7 separate regions of the Homo sapiens genome follow, and regions 2, 3, 4, 5, 6 and 7 are each linked to region 1. The links are contacts of gene promoters, found by promoter capture Hi-C in blood cells and fetal thymus (Javierre and others, 2016). All regions are on one chromosome and are shown on one strand. The core of a region is centred on a gene start or on the middle of the fragment in contact, and the rest is flanking DNA. Distances in the headings are between cores, read along the strand shown. Region 1 holds the start of ID2 (inhibitor of DNA binding 2). Region 2 overlaps RNF144A (ring finger protein 144A). Region 3 has its middle 130 kb from the start of GRASLND. Region 4 overlaps LOC101929452 (a long non-coding RNA gene). Region 5 has its middle 180 kb from the start of GRASLND. Region 6 has its middle 200 kb from the start of GRASLND. Region 7 has its middle 320 kb from the start of LINC01871.

Region 1 (2,986 bases), core at 291-2,790:
TGAACATTTAACCAAACACTCAAAGATTGGGCAAACCCTGGCGTCCAGATGCAACACACACACTCGCCTCGACAGCGCAAATTAAACATTAAAATAGCAGAGACTCAAGGGAAAAACTTCCCAACCCAATCTCCTATTTGGATCTCCAACAGCAGTGCTACAGGCGCCAGTCTGCTTCTCGTAACAATTATTTGATTGAAAACAGCCCTTTAGTTAACAGATAGGGAAGTCTGGGATCCCACATCACAGGGTTGAAGGCACAGGGTAGCAATCCTCAACTAGCCCAGAGAATCCCAGAGGACTATAGTTTTAGGGAAGGAGGATCACTATGGAATTTGTGGCGGTAAGATTAATTACAGTGGAGGTTAGTACCTCATAGTACCAGAGGACTCGTAGGAAGATCCAGGGCATTACATTTGCTACAAAGCCAATACACACGTTCCTCGGCCGCCTTCGTAGTAAGTTATTGGCATCATTTCCTTTTAAAGGAAAATGTTCTGTGATCTCGAGCACCCAAAGCTACAAGCTCCTTCATGTCTAGTGAGACAATGTAGTACGGGTAACACCGCGAAGTAAGCATGCATTTACCAAATCAGACATTTTATAGATACACAAGCAAAAACACATGCGCGCGCGCGCACACACACCGAGGGGCAGTTTACCCACGGGTGGCACAAGCAAACACTCACCGCTTATTCAGCCACACAGTGCTTTGCTGTCATTTGACATTAACTCAGAAGGGAATTCAGAAGCCTGGAAAGAAAGAGGATAAAGAGTACGAGGTTAAGACAATGTTAAGTAGAAAGGGTTTTTTTTTTTTTTTTTTTTTTTTTGTAGTCCACAGACCAGCAAGTTCCATTAAACACGTTTATGGTAACAATTCAGATTTAAAGACAGACGCATTAACATGTCAGAACTTACTAGCAATTTCACGCACAGCTCAATCTACAGCAGATTCTGAAGAAAATAAAGTTAAATAGCTCATACGAAAGTCACCGTCTGGGCTACGGATCTCCTAGTGACAGCCCAGACGACCGCGGGAGTGTGCGGCGGCGGGGCGGGGACCCCGGAGCAGGTCTTACCTGCAAGGACAGGATGCTGATATCCGTGTTGAGGGTGGTCAGCGGCGTCCTGGACGCCTGGTTCTGCCCGGGTCTCTGGTGATGCAGGCTGACAATAGTGGGATGCGAGTCCAGGGCGATCTGCAGGTCCAAGATGTAGTCGATGACGTGCTGCAGGATTTCCATCTTGCTCACCTTCTTGTTCTGGGGGATGCTGGGCACCAGCTCCTTGAGCTTGGAGTAGCAGTCGTTCATGTTGTATAGCAGGCTCATCGGGTCGTCCACAGGGGTTTTGCTCCGGGAGATGCCCAGGCTGTGGTCCGACAGGCTGTTTTTCCTAACGGACCTCACGGGACTGAAGGCTTTCATGCTGACCGCGAGGGAAGGCGAGACCGGGAGGGAGCTGGCTGCCCTGAAGCTCAGGCCGCCGCTGCCGCCTGCTGAGCTAGCTGCGCTTGGCACCGGGCTCGGCTCAGAATGAAGCCCGAGCCCGGCGGGGCGGCTTTTATCCGCACTCGCCGGGGCCACACGCTGGAGCTTCCCTTCGTCCCCATTGGCGGAAGGTGGCACGTCTATCAAGACGAGCGGGCGCTTCCATTGGTGGGCGCGGGCGCGGGGCGTGGGCTTGGTTCTTCCGCGTTCGCAGCCAATCCCCGCGGGGTGGGCGGGGCGCGAGCCCAGCTGGGGTGGTAAATAGAGTACAGTACAGTAAGTGCGGGGCTGGCGGGGGGCGGGGGGCGGGGAGCGGCGGGCGGGGGGCGGGGAGGAGGGAGGCGGGAGGAGGGAGAGGAGGAGGGAGGAGGAAGAGAAGGGAAGATGGGGGAGGGGAAGGGGGAGGGGAAGGGGGAGGGGAAGGAGGAGGGAGAAGGGGGCAGACCCTGGGCGCCTAAATATGCATTCTTAATTCTAATTCCAAGCGCGCGGCGGGACCCTTGCCCTGGGGGTGTTCCCAGACCAAGCCCTACACACCTTAGAGCTGTCGGCAGCTCTAAAATCACAGCTACACGGGCGAGTTCAGCACCGCAGGGGGGAAGCCACAGTTCACTGCAACCCATCGGAGGGAGAGCGTGAGGAAAGATAGAAAGCATTTCAGAAGAAAGTGAAAACGCAAATTAGGTTGTCACTGAAGAGTCACGTTTGTAGAGTGAGTTCGTCTCTTCAGATAAGGAAAAGTTATGTTAACACAAACAAACCACCCACGCACGCATTCGACGACAGGCTTAGTGTGGGCTTTTGCAACCCGGAGCAGCGCGGGAGGCATTACTGTAAACTCAAGAAAATGAGTACTTATTGCAAACCATGCCCAACCTCACCGGTCGCTAAGGAGCTCTCACAGGCAGGGCGCTTTCAGGGTTCCTTTTCAAGAAGGAGGCAGGGCTATTATAATGATCGTATTAATCGGAAATAATTAGGAGAATTTGCATATTGAAACTACATTTACATACACTGCCCTTGAAAGGCTGCCGGTCTGTGCCCTTCCGTGTAGGTGGCAAAGTAATGTGATTAATTATGCACTAATTGTGATTTCTGGTGTCACATTCCAACACCTAGAGGAGTTCCAAAGCTTTGTGACAGATAGGTGGCCCTAGCCATTGATAGACATCTTCACACTAAGGAAAAAAAAATATTCTGTCATATGAGGTTTGGAATCTTTTCAGCACTAGTACTGAATACGGGTTCAAGGTTTTTTTTTTTTTTTTTGGCTGAAAATCTTTTAAGAACTCGTTCTTTCAGTCTAAGTTTTAAAAAGTTTGCAGCTATTTACTTAAATACCTTAATTTTCACATAATTGTAGCTTATCTAGAATTCTGTTTTGACCACAGTGTGTCAGTTTCTTGTTTTTGAAAATATTTGCTCCAGAAAACAATGAACTAGAAAACTCCAGGAAAGGCAATATTCAAATCTTATTTACTTTCTGCCTCAAT
Region 2 (2,986 bases), core at 487-2,986, 1.8 Mb after region 1:
AAGTTCCCTGTCCACCCCAGGCTGTTTCTTGCTGTTCCCAGGCCCAGAATGTGACCTTGTCCCTCTTAATTTGCCTAGCTAACTCTGACCCGTCCCTCCCATCCCAGACCAACAGCATCGCCCCAGCAGGCAGCCTCCCTGCCACCCGGGGCTGATCCAGGCACCCTCCTGTGGGTCCCACTGCTCTCTGCCCTGACCTCCCATGCTGCCCTGACCCCACGGTTCAATCTGTTAATGTTTGAGCTTCCCGCTCCCTAGACTACAGCCTCCTCAAGGTCATGGGATCTATCCTTATCTGCAGGCCTCTGGGTTCAAAGCCAGGCTTCAAAATTGACGACGTGTGTGCGATGTTGGACAACATCCCTGCTCTCTGCTTCACTCTGCTCCTCTGTCAGCTAGGGATAGCAACATACGCCTGTGCTGCAGGGCTGTGTGAGAACTGCATCCACGATGCAAGCAAAGCCCTGAAGATCAGGCAAATCCATAATGAGTATCAACCACCTCCTCCACCTCTAGTGCCAAACACACCTGAGATGATAAAATACTGGTTGACACACTGCATGCCACCAAGGAGCTTGCTTTTGTCTGGAACACTGCATCCAGCTTATAAGCCTGCTCCTTAGAGAAAGCCTGCCTTCCAGTTCTACGGAACATCCAGGAAGTAAGCACCTTTAAATTCAGGTCTTGGGTTATTTGTGGAGTGAAGCAAGGTGAAGGCTCCTATCAGCAATGAGCCACCCTCCTCAAAGCTTCATTTCTCACCATTTCACTTTGGAAAAAATCCACTCTTCTGAAAGTTAAAATATTTTCTCTTGGGAAACAAACAAACCCTTACGAATGGTTGTACTTGGTGAGTCGTCCTGTAATATTTATTCTCCTGGAAAAAAAATATGATCCAACAGTACATTTTTATTTCTGGATCTTGGAAAATATTTACACCAACACCTCAGTTTTATCCTCAAAAAACTGGAGCCATCCAGGGAGGTTAAGACGCTGGCCCAGGGCCAGACAGCTGGGTCAGGAAATTGTAATAAGCTCTATCCTTCAGCCCCACTACCCAGCAGGTATGTGAGCAGTGGCTTCAATTTAATTTCTTCATCTAACTAAGAAAGGGTATTCATGTGTTTCAGTAATGCAGAAACAACGGAGAAAGGAGGCTAGTCTTGGAAATGATTACTTCTTAAAGAAAAGAAAGGCACCTCCAACTTCATTCTTCGATCTCAATGTTAGAAAATTCCCCAGAGAAAACACGGAGAGTCCCTCTTCCTTAGAAGCACTCCATTCCATTCCCCGCCTCTGGGCTGCCTCTGAGATCCCACATCCTGTGAAGCCAGGGGTTCCTTGCTCTAAGAGAGTCTGAGGGCTCAATATCATCCTGAATGGTTCCAGACCACCCAACGTGCAGGGCAGCGAGCACGGCTTCATCCTCTTCTATTGCAAGTGAGGTATGGGAAAAAAGGGACAGCAGACAGAACCAGAAAAGCTGATGCCAGGGCTGGACCAGCCACAGCTTTTCATGTGGCCTGGGCTACCTGACCCCTCCTTTCCAAGCTACGAGGTTCCCATGGTTACAACAAGGGTTCATAGGCCAGGTGGGTGCTGGCCCACCTGGTTCTGTGATTGTCAGTCTCCAAGGGCAGGCTTCCTTCCCATCTCTACCCCCAGAGGGAAAGGCTTCCAGGAGGGAGAAATGTGAACAAAAGTAGGCAGTGGGGCCACGTGGTGGACCACAGGGGAAAGAATGTTCTCAGAGGCAGGCAACGTAGCTTGTAGCTCCCAACCCTGCCGCCGCCTGCCAGAGTGGCACTTCTACCCCTGAACCTCAGCAGCTTCAGCCAAACAGTGTGAGGTCCCTTCAAAGTCCCAAACCACACTGAATCCCCAGGAGACGTGACTTACTCTAGCAACAGTCTGGATACAGGGATTACCAACTAGCAAGCTGAGGGCACTGGAATCTATTTATAAAATATATGCATTTTACAATGCTCTTTGAGTTTCCCAAATCCTCATGGCACAGATGACCTGGGGGTGCCTGCATCGTGCATTTGAGTTTGCCCTTCATTAGTTCCTCTTCCAGAGTTGCTGACATTAGAATCGGGAGCTCTTTAAAAACACAAACTGCAAAAATCAAATTGCACTGGGTCTGGAAAATTTCCATCCCATTAAAATTGGGTTATTTGCACCCATTTTCTCATGAGGTCCTCAATCCATCCACAGCCTTTGATGCCTGATGCAGGTGGAAGCCCACAGCCAGTGGGGGTCTGACTCGGAAGCCACAGTAAGGCACACCACACCATGCCTTCCCTTCCACGCAACACCGCGGAAATCACTCTAAAGCAGGGCTCAGATCACCCTCCTCCTCCAAAACCATCAATGGCTCCCACTGACACAGAGTCAAACCCAAAGTCTTGGCCTAGAATTCAAAGATTTCATGATTTATCCTCTTCTGACCCCTCTAGTCACATTTCCTTTGCACGCTTTAAAAATAAAAACAAAAATGTAAAAGGCATTAGAAAAGTGCAAAAAACAAGGTTCCCTAATCTCAGTACCGGAGAAGAGAATACAATAAAAAAGGCTGTTGTCTCCTTTGGAGCCACTGGGTGAATCCCCTGGGAAAGTTCACGGTGTCACACACCTTGTCCCTCCCCCTTCCTGCGCTGGAGCAGCTCTCTCTGGACAGAGGCCCTTCCTGCCACCTCTGACCTGCCCCACCTGCAAGCTTTGACTCAGACACCCCCTCCCTTGCAAAGGGGACTCCCTTTGCAGGGACACCCTGACTCCCTCCCTTCCCTCCTGGGGGCTCCCACAGCTCCACAGGCGTCTACACCAACTTACTTTCTACCTGGCATTTCATTTACAAATCCATCTTATCTGCCAGGCTCAACTCTCAACCCCAGCCCCATTCACTGGGGCATGTCCTCCTTCCATCTCCCAGGCCCCATTACGGGAAGTGTTTTCTTCCCAGGCTCTTAGTGCAGGAGCTAGA
Region 3 (2,986 bases), core at 365-2,864, 1.6 Mb after region 1:
TGTGAGCAGGTGAACTTAACTGAGACTTAGGTTTTCTGATCTATAAAATGGGCACAAAATAATATTTATTTGTAGCACTTTTGTGAGGACTAGAAAATGAAAAGTGCCGGGGCTCCTCATGTTAGATGCTAGGCAGTGAGCTCCCAGGTGGAGTGAAGCACCACAGAAGAAAGGAAAAAGGTTTCTCATCATCTCAGCCTTTTCTCATGTTTGCCACGGCCAGCGTTTTGTTTTTTTTCTGGTTCAGAATCAAGGTGAGGTGATGCCAAGGTATAAACCACCTGCTTTCTGAGTGACACCACGGACTGTTAACTTATGAGTTCCTCTCTCCAGGGCACAGCTACAGAGGCAATAGGGCATTTTGGAGGTATTTATGTTACTTCCAATTAGGCATTCTAATTAAGATGGACTAAGGGAGGAGTAATATGAGTGAGAATTGGGCATACCTGGGTGAGGGTGTCCTTGGGTTATTCTGAATACTGGGGGATTCATTGATACTCTTGGAAGTCAGCACTAAGCTCAGGAAGATCCCATGAGGTTGAAGCAGCCAGACCAGACCGGAGTGGAGCAGCCAGGGCAGAACATCTTCATCTGGGAGCCACACTCTTGGATTCAAGCGATTCTCCTGCCTCAGCCTCCCAAGTAGCTGGGATTACAGGCACCCACCGCCATGCCCAGCTAATTTTTGTATCTTTAGTAGAGATGACATTTCACCATGTTGGCCAGGCTGGTCTCAAACTCCTGATCTCAGGTCATCCACCCGCCTTGGCCTCCCAAAGTGCTGGGATTACAGGCGTGAGCCACTGTGCCTGCCCTCAACTGTCTTTTTACTGATACTTGTTACTTTCCACTCCACAGGCTGGGCATAGACCCCCATCTCCTCTTCGCTGCTCCTTTTGGCGGCTTCCTAACCTCATGTCCTGGCCCTCATCCTCTGCATCCAAGCTCCCCTACATGCAGCTACCGTGGCGTAGGCAAATCCCATATCTTATTGTGTCAGCACCAACCTTAACCTGAAATCCTCCAGCCTGGCTTAAACCTTAAAAAGTGCATCCCCTCTGTCCCTTACCGCTCTACCCCGTCCACCTGCTCCACCTCCAATCCCCTCACCCTACTGGAGCTCAGCTCTGCACTGAAGGTTTGCCAAGCTCTCTTGGGGCGTCTGCGGCTTTACTTGCATGGGTGTGTTTGTGTGGTGGCATTCCCTCCCAATCTGTGCTCTGAGCAACCCCCTGCTCTCTCCATCCCCGACCCCAATTCCGTCTCCTCCAGAAATTTGCTCTGACTTCTCCTGCAGGGGGTGGAGCTCCTCTCTGCTACCACCTGTGGAGTGTGATCATCACCTTCCGGCCTGCCGCACTAGACTGTGATGTCTCCGTGCATTTGCATTGGTCTGTGTGGTGTGGTACCAAGGCACTGATGAAGAAAAGGGAGGATCTAAACTTCAGTCCAAGCCCTGCCAGGAACTAGCTTCAAGACTGCACCCGAGGCATTCTGCCTCACTGAGCTTCTCCTTGTTTATAAATATAGACGGGGTCTGAGTGGTCCTGACAGCACTGGGATTCCAGCACTTCCTCCCTTGGGAGCTCCCGTTCCCTTCGACATTCCCCTCCAATGCTGGTATACAGAGTCCTAAGTCTTCCCCATGGAGGCCAGTGAGGGAGCCAAGAATCTGCTTGTCTTTCAAAAGACTGTTGCTCTCCATTCCCTTAAAGGTATATGAGAGAATTTATGCTACTGAAATATAGGCAACGGTGAAGAATTTGGATTTAACGACACAGGAAGCAGAAGGCTCTCAATGGTTTTCAACAGAAGCATCACAAGATGGAAACAGAGAATGCCCCAGGAACAGAATGGTGAGAAGGGAGGAGGCTGGGAGCAGAAGATACTTTAGGAGGCCCCAGGTGTGTCCACGAGAGACTGAAGAGGACCTGCATTAGTCTGTTCTCACTCTGCTAATAAAGACATACCCAAGGCTGAGGCATTTATAAGGAAAAAAGGTTTAACTGACTCACAGTTCCACATGGCTGGGGAGGACCCACAATCATGGCAGAAGGTGAAGGAGGAGCAAAGTCATGTCTTACTTGGCGGCAGGCAAGAGAGCTTGCGTAGGGGAACTCCCATTTATAAAACCATAAGATCTCCTGAGACTTATTCACTACCACGAGAACAATATGGGGAAACCACCACCATGGTTCAATTATCTCCACCTGGCGCCACCCTGGACGTGTGGGGATTGTTATAATTCAAAGTGAGATTTGGGTGGGGACACAGCCAAACCATATCAGGACCCGAACTGAGGACAGGGAACCAGGTCCTACTCACTCGTGAATTCATCTCCTGGGAAAGGCAAACAGTTCTTCCTTCAAAGTCATGACCAGCTTCCAACGTGCAACCAAATGAAACTTGGTATCGAATGCATTTTCGACTGAAAAAGCCGAGGAGATTGTGCTTTTTCTTATGACTTTCATCACACATCCTGCCCCTGGCGTTTCCAAAAGCCGTTGCATTTGGACTGCTTTCCCTCCTAAGCCTGTGTTAGCCTCGCCTTCTGAGCTTCCCACAGTACACATTTTTTGCAGGTGCATTTGCTTGTATTTGCAAGACAGAAGCTCACTTTGTTGGAACTTTCTTTCCTCGGTCCCTCTTCATCGTCTTCATCTCCTAATTGGTGTTTGTAATAACTCCCAGCTTAGTATCATCTGCAAGTTTCATTAATATGTTGATTCCTCCTTTGTCATTAATAAAAACATTAAATTATTATTTAACATTCATTGTGCACCAACAATGTATTAAGAGTTGTGCAGAAATGAGAAAAAGATCCACTCTGACTGCAACCTCATTTTCGTGTCGTTGAAAACTCAAATCGCTGAGCACAGTTGAATTTTTGTCATCTTCATCCTTTGTGGATTCCAAGAGACTCGTTTTTCAGGATTTTGTATGCCAGGTGAAATCAGCAAACAAAATCTCCAGAGGTTTTCTCTCC
Region 4 (2,986 bases), core at 327-2,826, 1.6 Mb after region 1:
CTACTATTGACTTAGGGCAAGTTACTTTCTCAGTTTCCAGGTTCCTCAGCTGTGAAACACAGACAAAAGCTACCTTTCAGGATTGCTGTGAAGATAAGGCACTGTAATAATCTGTGAAAACACACTCACCTCGGAGGCTGGAACCCAGGAGGTGCCAGGCAGCCTCTACTTAGGTGTGTGTGTGGTGACTTCAGCATATGGGACAATGATACTCAGGTCTATGCAAGCCCCTTGGGTCCTAGACTCGTAATGGCCATCTCCACATTATCTGTGACTTTGCTTTGATGGCATCCTCCAAGATCATTCTCTCTTAGAACTTGAAATCTCAGTCCCCGTCTCTATCTGCCATCTCTCATTGTTCTACTTCTGTTTCCTCACTCATACCCAGCTGCTTCCGTTATGCTCAGCAAAACCCCCAGCCCTTGGGCTGGCATCTTCAGCCTGGCTTTTGTCTGACTCGGATTCGCCAGTGCAGTCTGACATTTTGAAATGCTCTTCCTCTCCTCTGATGTCCTCAACCTGGATGAACATATCAATGCTCAAAATCACTGCTATCACCCTCTCTTTCTGCTTCTTCTGCTTATTGTTTCTGTTAGCAGCACCATCCTCTCGGCCAGAGGGATCTGAAGCTCAACCCACTCTTGATTCTTCTTTCTTCTATAATGCCCAAAAGCCAATCATTAGATCCTACCACCATTTTCACTATAAAGTTTCACGGTGCCACTACCCAAATGAATTACTCTGTATTAATCTTATCTTTAAAATGTGTTATAAACAACCCACCTCTTACAGATGACACTCAGATTCAGTATTATGGAGAATGCATTTCTCTAAGATGGCATCACCCTGTTAAAGAAAACCTTACTCACTGATACTTGTTAAAGCACAGAAAAGCTTACTCAATGATACTTGTGTAAATCACATCACAATAGAGGGACCACTGCAAAGGGATTTTGCAACAGGGAAGAGAGATTGAGCCCAACTCGGAGCACAGCACTGGTAAGTGGGAATTTATATCCAAGGAGCAGGGTGGGGACCACTAGATAGAAAATTACTAAGAGGAGATATCGGGGTGAGGGTGCAGGGATTCTGGCTACAGAAATCTAACAGGATTCTTGCTGAAAACAGGCCAGGTGATCAGACATCACCTGGGGATGATGGACAATGAGAAACTTGGTCATATATTGAAAATACTGAGTCAGATATCAAGGGTGGGGGAGTTCTTGATAAACTGACTTAGCAGCGTTCTTAGCCCAAAATGGACTTTACAAGGAAGTACACAGGTAGACATAGGAGAAGCTTCAGGTGACTGGCTACAGTTTGGCCAAGCAAGGAGTTTTTGTTAGTCCTTCCTCTTGTTCAAGGAAAGGAGAGACATTCTTCTTTCTTTTGAACGCTGTAACTCCATTTTCTCATGTGGTCACCTTTTGTTCACTAAGAACCCACTGAGTCACCTGTTGGGACTTGATAGTTCCAACATACTGGATGGTGCAAGCAGTCAGGCATTTAATGAGGGGATTTTTTTAATAGTCGGAAACTCAGTTTCTGAGCCCAGAGGGCAGCCAATCAAAAAGATTTCTAAACACTGAGCTTGAAGCCTCTTCAAGTGGTGTGGGAGCAGGCAGTGGCAAGTTGATAGACCTTCCTGGTTTTCAGTTTTAACACCACGAAGGTTGTCTACCCCTGAGCTATTGTGGTGATCTCTCTGATGTCTGTATCAAGTCCTCCAGCTTCAGCTTTTGGGGCTCCAGGAAAGGAGCAGTTTTAATTTTAATGACTCCAAGTCAGAAGGGTTGGAGAAAATTGGAAATATTAGTCTGGAGTGTGGTTGCCAGATTTTGGAGGAAGCTTGGAGAATTCAGGATCCAGTCCAGTGTGTAGACAAATCAGAAAACCACAAAAACAATGAGCAAGGCTAAAATTCAATAAGAGGTGTGCTATAGTTTTCTTCTGAAACATAATTTCTCTCTCTCCATTTACCCCCATTCCTACCAAAAATAAGCAAAGACTGATTTGCTTGCAAAATAAGTTTAGTCTCATTAACTTGGCCTGATTATTTATATAAACGCAGCAAAAATAATGATTGACCACCTAGGCTCTTTTTGAGTTTGCTTTCCTGGAACTTTTAGGGGAATCTCAGACTAAACAGTTAAAAGCCTTTTAAAACTAGAAAGCGAAGCCAAGGACTTGCTCTCAGGCTGTTTCTGAAATACTTAGGGATTTGAGTGAATATCCCTTTTATAGGTCTCCAAAATATCCTGGGGTTCCTAGGCCTGCCAGGAAGTGACACTCTTTATTCACCCGGAAGAAAACTATGTAAGTGAACCAAGTATGCAACACAACATGGCGATAATTTTTTTCCAAGAGGCTTTATTGACTCCATAAAGTCAACCTTAGTTTCTTAAAGTCGTCATATCTGAAGATACAACATTCCAGTTAAGGCCTTCATAATATATCCAGTGTTTTCAATTGTGTACTGTTACAAGGAAAACATATTCTTACTGCACATATGCAAATAACTACATTATCATAAAATAAAAATGTTTACTAATAGTTTTCTAATTCCAGAGGGATCGGGTAGGAGGCAAAAGTAATTATTTCTTCTTTATTCACAAAGAAATACATTACCAAATTGTTCTAAGCTATAGATAGCTTAAGATAAAAGAGAAAAACTTGACCGGGCATGGTGGCTGACGCCTGTAATCCCAGCACTTTGGGAGGCTGAGGTGGGCAGATCACGAGGTCAGGAGATCAAGACCATCCTGGCTAACACGGTGAAACCCCGTCTCTGCTAAAAATACAAAAAATTAGCTGGGCGTGATAGTGGGCGCCTGTAGTCCCAGCTACTCGGGAGGCTGAGGCAGGAGAATGGCGTAAACCCAGGAGGCGGAGCTTGTAGTGAGCCGAGATCCGGCCACTGAACTCCAGCCTGGGCAACAGAGTGAGACTCCGTCTCAAAAAGAAAAAAAGAAAAAAAAAAAAGAGA
Region 5 (2,986 bases), core at 264-2,763, 1.6 Mb after region 1:
TCAGATAGATCTCCTCCGGCGTGAGGTGAGTGGGCTCAACACATGCGCACTAAGAGGCAAAATGGCAGAGTGTGAGTGGCATATGACCTCCTAGGGACATTCGGCTGGTAAGGGAAGAACGCCTCAAGGGAGCATGGGTACGACTCCAGTAAACACACTGCGCATGCGCCCCTCCCAAGCGCCAGCAGCCCACCATGCATGCGTGCAGTCCACCCCAAGGGGAGAATCAGGGGAGAAGGGACGCAAGACCCCGGAGGCATGCCAACATATAAAACCCCAAGTCAAAGGGTCAAACCCTGCACTAGTCCTTCAAGTCTCCTGCTTGGCCCTCTTCCAAGTGTACTTTCCTTCTTTTCATTCCTGCTCTAAAGCTTTTTAAGAAACCTCCACTCCTGCTCAGAAACTTGCCTCAGTCTCTCCCTTGCCTAATGCTCCTCAGATGAGTTCTTTCTTCCGAGGAGGCAAGGAATGAGGTTGCTGCAGACTGGTCCGGAGTTGCTGCTGCTAACATACTTTGGTGCCCTGTGACTCAGAGACCTTCCGCTGCTAACAAAACCTGGCCCCAGTCTGTGCCTCCTAAATGGCTTACCCCAGGGTCCTTTTGCTAAACCACCATGCCTCTCTCTAGGGTCGGTTCAAAGCCACCTCCCTCCTTCTCCTTGGAGGAAAGCTTGTCCTCCCCGGCCTTTTCCAGCCCTGTGCCCCATTCTGGGGACTCCATGCCTAGTACCTGGCCCCTTTCCTGCCTCATCATCCTGCTAATCTCTGAGATCCTACAGGGAAGTATCTTATTTATTCCTCAGAACAGGGAACACAGTGCCTGAAACATCAGAAGCTTCCCATCCAATGTCTCAATATTTGCTAAGTAAATGCTGAGGCTTTTACCAGCTAAAAATTCAAAGGTTTTCAATCGTTGGATGTCTTTCACGGGAAAAAGTGATGGTGAAGAGCCAGGATCTGCCGCTCACTTAAAATTCACCACGTGGGCCGGGCACGGTGGCTCACGCCTGTAATCCCGGCACTTTGGGAGGCTGAGATGGGTGGATCACTTGAGGTCAGGCGGTCAAGACATGCCTGGCAAACATGGTGAAACCCTGTCTCTACTAAAAATACAAAAATTAGCTGGGCATGGTGGCACATGCCTGTGATCCCAGCTACTCAGGTGGCTGAGGCGGGAGAATCACTTGGACTCAGGAGGCGGAGGTTGCAGTGAGACAAGATCGTGCCACTGCACTCCAGCCTGGGTGACAGAGCAACACTTTGTCTCAAAAAAAAAAAAATTACCACTTGGACTTAGGAGACGCTTCCTCCTGAGCCCTGTGTATGAGGTGACCAGCTGCCCCCAGATATTCTACTGCCCCGTCTGGGGAATCTACTGACCGGCACAGAAGAGGCACCAAACACCTGCTCATACCCGGGAAGGATAAGGCAGCATGAAGCGAAGTTCTATTTGACAGGCCCTGCCACCCCCAGGACAGCCTTAATAGTGTGTGTCCCTGAGCAATGTTTCCCCCCCAGCCTCCTCTCCCTGCAGCAGGGCCCTGCCCTCCCTCCTCACAGGGTTTCTTTGCTCATTGAGCTTGTCTCCTCTTTGCCCCACCCAAATGCACTCATCTCCATCCATGAAACTAAATGCTTTCACATGGAAAAATTCAGATAGGTCTCAAAGTATAAACTAATCTTCCCAGAGCTATGTTGCCAACCCAGGTGTCTCCCCTGAAGCCTAGAATCTGAGTCAACTGGTCACTTTTCCACTTGGATATTCTGCAGCACCTTGAACTCCCTGGGGCAAACCTACACTTGCCAGTTTCCTGCTCCCTTAAAATACGCTCCATCTTCTGAGTCCTGCACACCAAGTGGAGGCCCCACCATCGTCCAGGTGCCCAGGACAGAAATGTGGGATTCATCATCAGTTAGTCACTATGTCCCACTGATTCTGCCTTCTAAGTGTATCCTGAAAGAACACACTTCCTTCCGTCACACAACCCCCTACTCAGGCCACTGGTATCTGCTCTGGATTATTGCTCAGCATCTATGTTAGTGTCACCGGCAGCGAATCCGTATCTTACGGGTCTGCAGCAACCTCAATTCTTGCCTCCTCAGAAGAAAGAATTCAACTGAGGGGCATAAGGCAGAAGGAGAGAACAAGGCAAGTTTTAGAGCAGGAGTGAAAGTTGATTAAAAAGCTTTAGAGCAGGAACACAAGGAAGGAAAGTACACTTGGAAGAGGCCCAAGCAGGTAACTTGAAGGACAAGTGCAGGGTTTGACCTTTTGACTTGGGCTTGTATATGTTGGCATGCTTCCGGGGTCTTGTGTCCCTTCTCCCGATTCATCCCTTGGGGCGGGCTGTCTGCACGCACAGTGGCCTGCCAGCAGTTGGGAGTGGAGCGTGTGCTATGTGTTTCCTGGAGCTGTATGCATGCTTATTTGAGGCATTCTTTCCTTACCAGACTAGCATTCCTACAGGAAGGTCATACAACAGTTAAACTCCATCACTTTGCCTCTTAATGCACATGCTTGAGCTCACTCGCCCACTTCCTGAGATCTTATTGGGAAGCTGCTGATCACCAGTTTTAGGTGTTTTCTTTTTATTTGGAGACGGCCTTTCCCTGGTGCCAGCTGTGACCAATTATTACTTTAGCGAGACACTTTACAACCGCCTGACCGTCACCTGACCGTCACCAGACACTCCTGGTGTGTGGGTGGGGAGCCCTCCCCTGCCCTGCTCATGCCTGACTAGCTACCTACTGTAACATTAGGACACGGCAGATGCAGTGATCAGAACCCTCAAGCCGCTGAGGTGAGCTTGTTGGACCCCCGTTCCAGAGACAGTGAGAGTTCCAAGCTCTCCCCCACATTTCCCTCCTGCAAATTTCTCTCAGCTGTGGTGGTCCTTCTTTTTCAGATTCACCTTGCGTTTCCCTCCATGCCACTCCAGGCCCTTCACCAGGCTGTGCTGCTGAGCATGTATGCACACACACACAC
Region 6 (2,986 bases), core at 139-2,638, 1.6 Mb after region 1:
TTCAACCTCTAAGGTACAGCACATAGGGACTTTTCTGATTGGTTTTGTCCTGACTGTTCTCAATTAATTCTTGATTATCTCTTGCATGCTCCTCTACTGATACTTCACCTCACCAAACAATCCCATTCCCCAGATTATGCCCAGCGTAGCTGACACATGGACTGTGCTCAGTGTCTGTTGTTTATCCAAAAATAAATAAATAAAAATGGTTGTATGTTAAATTCAATTGTTTATTAAGGCCATAGAAAATCTTAGAAATTGGAACCCCCACTTACTTCTGAAAGCAGTAGTCACAAGAGAAAATAAAAAAAGAAAGGCTAATTAGACTCCCAGACAGAGCATGCACTCCAGCCCAAGTGCTCCACCCTGAGTAGTGAAACAACACTCCTCTGTCCAGGCGGGATACCAGGTGTTGACAAGATGGAGAAATTGAACCAGAGTCTCTAGATTTAGAGGTAGCTGGTAAAGAAGAGAGAAAAGATAAAGTATGAGGCTGAAGACACAGGAAATAAATAAGTCATCATAACAAAGAGGAAGTCTTCCCAACCTCCTTCTTTCCTTGGGTCTCAGCACACCCCAGGCAGGCGATGAGAGAATTGTTCTGGAGAATGGAAGAGCCCAACATGTAAGATACAGTCCTAGGGCACCATCCTGTCTATCCCAAGCAACATGACTCTAAGTGAAGCTTGCCAATTAATAAGCCACACATACACATAGACCTTCCAATCAGCTTTTTAGTATTTGAGTTTTTAAGCAGAAAACCAAGCAGCACTAGCCATTTGAGGAAAGCCTCCAACATGAAAGACAAATCAAAATGTAAGAGCAGAGAAAAAGAAAATGGAGGCAATACAATAAGTAGAAAAACAACTTTTAAAAATAGATTTAATATCCCCAAGGAGATAAGATACTGTATTCATGAAACAAGAACAGAATGCTATGAAAATCAAACAATAAGAGAACCAAAGAGCTCTATATTAAAATAGAGTTTTTATAGAAATTAAAACTATAATAGATAAAATTTAAAACACAAGGAAAGGGCTGGAAGCTAAGTTTGAGAAACCCTCCTGGAAATTCAAAAACTATAGAAGATGAGAAATAAAAGGTAACAAAATAAAAAAATTAGTATGAAAAAAATCAAAGATCTCAAAATTAAGAATTCCAGAAAGTGCAAACAAAGTAAATTAAAGAGAATTATTAAATAAATGATCTAAGAAAATCTCTCAGAAGCAAAGTATTTTTATTTTCTATTGAATAACTGTGATGGGCTGAATAATAGCCGTTGAATGGTATCTGGGTCCTAATTCCTAAAACATGGAAATGTTAATTTTTTGAAAAAAAAAAAAAAGATTTTTGAAGATGTAATTAAGTTAAGAATCTTGAGATGAGGCAGTTTTCCTGGATTATCCAGATGAGCCCTAAATGCAGTCACTTGTATGTTTGTAAGAGGGAGGTAGAGGAAGATTTGACATACAGAGAGAAAGTGGCCATGTGACCATAGAGGCAGAGATTGGTGTGATGTAGCCACAAGCCAAAGAATGCTGTCAGCAAACAGAAACTGAAAGAAGCAAGGACAGATCCTCCCTTGGAGCTCTTGAGACAGCCCTGACAACACCTGGATTTCCATACAGCAATATGATTTCAGAATATTGGCCTTCAGGACTGCGAGACAATAAATTTCTTTGTTTTAGGCCAGTCTGTGATAATTTTTGCAGCCACAAAATAAGAATGATTAAAGTGAATAATAAAAGAATCATAGAGCTATATATTAAAATAGAGTTTTTAATTATGGAAATTAAAACCATAATAGACAAAATTTAAAACTCAAGAAAAGGGCTGAAAGCTAAGTCTGAAAAAAAATCTCCTGGAAATTTGAACACTATAAAACTATTAAAACTGTAGAAGAGGGAAAACAGGAAAAGGTAAGATAATAAAAAGGTTACTTGAAAAAAATTAAAGACCTCAAAAATAATAATTCCAGAAAGTGCTTTACTCAATAAATGAAAGAAAAGAAAGAAAAAAAAATCCAGAGCAAGAAACATTACAGCAAAATTTCAGAATATTAGAAGTTAAGATAAGAGACTAAAAGCTTTCAGAGGAGAAGCAAGTGTCTCCAAAGGAACAAGACTCAGATAGGAACCAAATTTATCGAACCTAAAAATGATTACTACAATACAATGCAGCAATATCTGCAGAATCTAACATTCTGAGATTGAAGCCATTTCTGATCTAGAATTATATATCCAAGCAAACCAAAATATTAGCCCCAAGTAAGTTTATGTTTTTCATGCAATGTGTCACTAGATTTACCACCTCTGCCAAAGTTCTCAATAAGAGACCAAAAGATTTGCTCCAACGGCTGAAGGAGGAGACTCCAAACAAAAGAGGAAGTCATTACATTTAGAAAACAGGAATACCAAAATATTTGTGACGTAAAATAATTTTACAGGATATTGGTAAAGTCCCAGTTGACACCAATGCCACAGACCCAGTGAGGAGCTGTCCGTGTTCCAGCAGATGGAAGGTCTCAGAACGGTGTCTCAAAATACAGCAATGAGATCAATATATTTTCTATGGAGTTGACTACATTGAATGGGATTCTAAAATTCATTTCAAAAAGAATCATTGCTGGGTACACAAGAAAAAATCATTCTTTAAATGAAAAATATACATGAAGAGCGTGTGGTTTGACCTTTAAATTCTCATCTTCCATAGTAGAAGTCAATAGAGAAGTCTTAATTTAAAAAAAAAGGAATAATCATATTGTTTAGAAATCGGATGTTTTATACCAGATTGCTAAAAGGGTTTGAATTAGTTGTCTCTGGGACCTAAGAGAGCTATGACAAGAGCCTCTAGTATTTTTTTTCCTAAGCCTTCTATTACTCTTTTGAGTTTTTTCAAACCATGCACACTTGTTACTATGATTTTAAAGAAAGAAATCATGGATCCCTCTCTGCAATAATAGGTCTCTCTCTTTCTATAAAGAAAT
Region 7 (2,986 bases), core at 157-2,656, 1.3 Mb after region 1:
AGGATATAGAAATTTCATTCGAATGAACTTTCCAGGGATTTATAGCCTCTGGAGTTACTATAGTAAGTGTGTATCTTCTGATGAGTAATCCACAGGAAAATCACTGGGCTGAAGAGTTCAGTGCTTGAATATTGTGTCTGAAATTACAACAAAATTTAAAGAACTCTTTGAAAAATCTTGTAGAGGATTTATCAATAGTAATGCAAATTCAACTTTTGATAAAAGACAGAGCTCTCAACAAACATGATAAAAATGAGCCAAAGGTACCCAAGCCAGCTGACATTTGTTTATGATGGAAGGATTAAGTTTAATTCACTTTTGTTCTTAAATGTTCACATTTACAACAACCAAAATAACATGTATTTAACTAATGTATAATTTGAAAAAGCTTTCATATAGTATGTTAAATGTAAATGTCTATTACCTCATTTGATATAACACATGTACTTTAAGAAGTTCTTGTAAACTAATATTTAGTGAATTAATCAGTGGTTTACTTCTTCATTCTGGGGCCAGTGTGGGTCTTCAATTGAGTGTTAGGTGATAAGGAAATGCATGCTGCACACAGAGCTCAAGGATCTCATTATCACACACTTCGTATTGCTAGATGTGTTGCTTTGGGAAGGCCGTGACCTTCTCTCTGGGACTCAGTTTCCTTGCCTTATGGAACAAAGGAGCCAGTGCAGGCTGACATTTAGGCCCTCGGGAGCTTCCTCAGGATGAAATGACCCATTGGGTCTCCCATGTGGTGAGCCTCGGTTAGCAGAAGCCAGGGCTTGCTACCCAGGGCATTAACTACACATAGTGGTCTCCATCAGTGGAAGAGTGAGCGCAAAGGCCTTCATCCTCCAAGATGGCCTGCATACACATGGATGTCCCCAAGTTCAGTGGCACCACCGTTAGTCTAGTGCTGTGCCCTTGAGCCGGGCAGGCCCTTCAGCTTCCCAAGCCTTCATTTCCCATCTGCCCAGTGGAGATAAGAACACCTGCCAGGGCTGTGCATCCTGTGAAATACGTGAGATGATGTGTGTCAATCCAGGGCACAGGACTTGGCCCCTAGCACCAGCTTGGAAAATGAAAATTCTTCCATTCAGGGTCCCAGGGGGTAGAAAGTAAGAAAATATAACAATAAAGGAGGGAGGGGGAAGGAAAGATAGATTGCCATTCTTTAAATAAAATCAGGGAGCGAGGTGTGAGAAAAATAGAGAAAGGCAGAGAGTATGAGAGAGAGGAATAGCTACAGGCACTTGGAATAGTGCTGCAAGATTCTCATAAGTAAAAGCTTCTCTTAAAATATTGGAGTTCCTCCATATGGGAAGCTTGGGGAGAGAAGAGAAAAAATTAAATTAAAGCATTTGAAAGTATATTATAGTTTTATCTCTTTGGCTCTGCGATTTCAGAAATAATATAATCCTATGGAAAACATGCTGCCAGAGGATTTTGTATAGTGGCGCCCCGACAGGATGGGACTGAATGATGTCAAAAAAGCTTATATAACAGTTTTGTTTTATTCATTTACATAAATCACATTTACCGTAGGTGTTTTATTCAAAATAAAGTTTGGGAAAAATAAATTGAACAGATGAACCTAGGCAAACCTGGTGATTTTTTCATGAGTAGTGTTTGATGATAAAGGCATAAAAGCATAATGTGGTATCATTTCACCAAGGCACAATATGGATCACCCATATGGAGCAGAAGTTGATAATACTGCAAAGAAGCAAAAATAAACAGAACAGATGTACTTGTAAAATCAAGTCTGCACCCACCCCTGAGTACCTGCCTTGTACTGGAGAAGTTTCTACTAAAACTCCAAACTGGCTTCAAGTCCCCTTCCCACAGAGACGCTTGGGAAGCCAGAGATGAAATCTCATATGACCAAACAGAAATGAGAAAAGGTTTTCTAAAGCAGCAAGCTCCCAAGAAAGACTGAACCAGAGCCTGCTGGATCCCCCAAAGAAAGCCGACCACTGACAATGCCTCAGTTGTCAGGATCAGAAGGCATGGGTTCCAATCCCGACTCCTCCTAGCTGAGTCTTGGAGAAATCTTCAAATTTCTAAGCATTGGTTCATCAAAGGTGAAGTCTCAGAGGTGTTACCTACTTCACAGGGATATTGTCAAGCTTAAATGAGAAATGCAGGGAGGAAAAAAAAAATGCAACGCCAAAAGCACCAGACAGACCGAATTCGGTCTACATGGTTTTGTTCCAGGCCTTTTCTGAGGGAAATGCCAAAGAGGATGTGATATAAAGTGTTCTTGTTTTAACAAAGAGGTAAGGTCTTTGGGAAGTCTAGGTTTATTGTCTGATAAAGATTCTATGTAGAATCATAATATTCCTGAGAGTATGTCAGCCTTAGACTATTCGTAATATTAGTAACATGTACATAAAACTTTATAATTTCCAAGGCAGTTTCTCAAATGGATTTTCTTCTGACCCCACCTAACCCTGTAAGGTGGGCAATGCGGGGAATAATCCCCATTCAACAGATGAGCAGACTGTCACTCAGAGAGGGACTTGGGACAGCCAGGACTGGAGCCCACGTGTTTCACGACGCCATGCCGCTTGTCACTCACACATTCACAGACGCTTTTATCGTAGGAGAGGATTTTACATCTCATCAGCCATGAAATATTGAGCCTATGTCTGAAGGCTTGGCTGTCTTGCAAACACAAGAGGCCCCAGTAGTTGGTGTTTAGCTGAGAGTATTTGAAATCACATTTGTCATGTGTAAAGTATAGAGCTCTTTGCAAACTGTAAAGTGCAAATATGCATATACAGTGTTATCTTTTCATTACTGGTTTCCATTCCAACAGCAGACGAATGTCTCCGGCTAGGAGGAAGACCTCAGACCTTCCCACTGTGATTGCAGGAAACTCACTTCCAACCCTCTGCTGTGAGCCAAGCTCTCCTGAGAGCACTGCTTTGTCTTATCTACACAACTTGGGAGAAAGTTGACGGCACTGCTTCATTTAGAAATTCCATGC

What was found. The method cuts DNA at HindIII sites, captures the fragments that hold promoters and counts their contacts. A CHiCAGO score of 5 or more calls a contact.
Region 2: a contact is called between a fragment that was not itself captured here and the fragment with the promoter of ID2 in region 1, in 1 of 17 cell types (naive CD4 T cells). The highest score is 5.1, in naive CD4 T cells.
Region 3: a contact is called between a fragment that was not itself captured here and the fragment with the promoter of ID2 in region 1, in 1 of 17 cell types (total B cells). The highest score is 8.4, in total B cells.
Region 4: a fragment that was not itself captured here is called in contact with the fragment with the promoter of ID2 in region 1 in 1 of 17 cell types (total B cells); the score reaches 9.4 in total B cells.
Region 5: a fragment that was not itself captured here is called in contact with the fragment with the promoter of ID2 in region 1 in 6 of 17 cell types (total B cells, naive B cells, naive CD4 T cells and 3 more); the score reaches 16.9 in total B cells.
Region 6: a fragment that was not itself captured here is called in contact with the fragment with the promoter of ID2 in region 1 in 2 of 17 cell types (total B cells and naive B cells); the score reaches 6.8 in total B cells.
Region 7: a fragment that was not itself captured here is called in contact with the fragment with the promoter of ID2 in region 1 in 1 of 17 cell types (total B cells); the score reaches 7.9 in total B cells.

The regions. Positions count from the first base shown.
Region 1 is chr2:8,680,610-8,683,595 of GRCh38, reverse strand. ID2 (inhibitor of DNA binding 2) reads right to left here and starts at 1,540. Exons shown (of 3, transcript NM_002166.5): 1 at 1,083-1,540; 2 at 690-753. The coding sequence starts at 1,430. The coding sequence ends at 697. ID2-AS1 (ID2 antisense RNA 1) reads left to right here and starts at 1,733. Exons shown (of 4, transcript NR_110154.1): 1 at 1,733-1,769. RefSeq lists enhancers at 1,301-1,350, 1,838-2,341. The HindIII fragment of the contact is 3,638 bases long and covers 1-2,627 here.
Region 2 is chr2:6,918,912-6,921,897 of GRCh38, reverse strand. The region is part of intron 1 of RNF144A (ring finger protein 144A); the gene reads right to left. Among named protein-coding and RNA genes, the nearest start is that of GRASLND, 1.7 kb to the right of the region's middle. The HindIII fragment of the contact is 1,970 bases long and covers 752-2,721 here.
Region 3 is chr2:7,049,436-7,052,421 of GRCh38, reverse strand. It overlaps a transcript of RNF144A not described here. Among named protein-coding and RNA genes, the nearest start is that of GRASLND, 130 kb to the right of the region's middle. The HindIII fragment of the contact is 7,501 bases long and covers 1-2,986 here.
Region 4 is chr2:7,066,076-7,069,061 of GRCh38, reverse strand. The region is part of intron 2 of LOC101929452 (a long non-coding RNA gene); the gene reads left to right. It also overlaps a transcript of RNF144A not described here. Among named protein-coding and RNA genes, the nearest start is that of GRASLND, 150 kb to the right of the region's middle. The HindIII fragment of the contact is 549 bases long and covers 1,302-1,850 here.
Region 5 is chr2:7,094,011-7,096,996 of GRCh38, reverse strand. No RefSeq gene overlaps it. Among named protein-coding and RNA genes, the nearest start is that of GRASLND, 180 kb to the right of the region's middle. The HindIII fragment of the contact is 1,351 bases long and covers 838-2,188 here.
Region 6 is chr2:7,112,624-7,115,609 of GRCh38, reverse strand. No RefSeq gene overlaps it. Among named protein-coding and RNA genes, the nearest start is that of GRASLND, 200 kb to the right of the region's middle. The HindIII fragment of the contact is 1,401 bases long and covers 688-2,088 here.
Region 7 is chr2:7,406,799-7,409,784 of GRCh38, reverse strand. No RefSeq gene overlaps it. Among named protein-coding and RNA genes, the nearest start is that of LINC01871, 320 kb to the left of the region's middle. The HindIII fragment of the contact is 169 bases long and covers 1,322-1,490 here.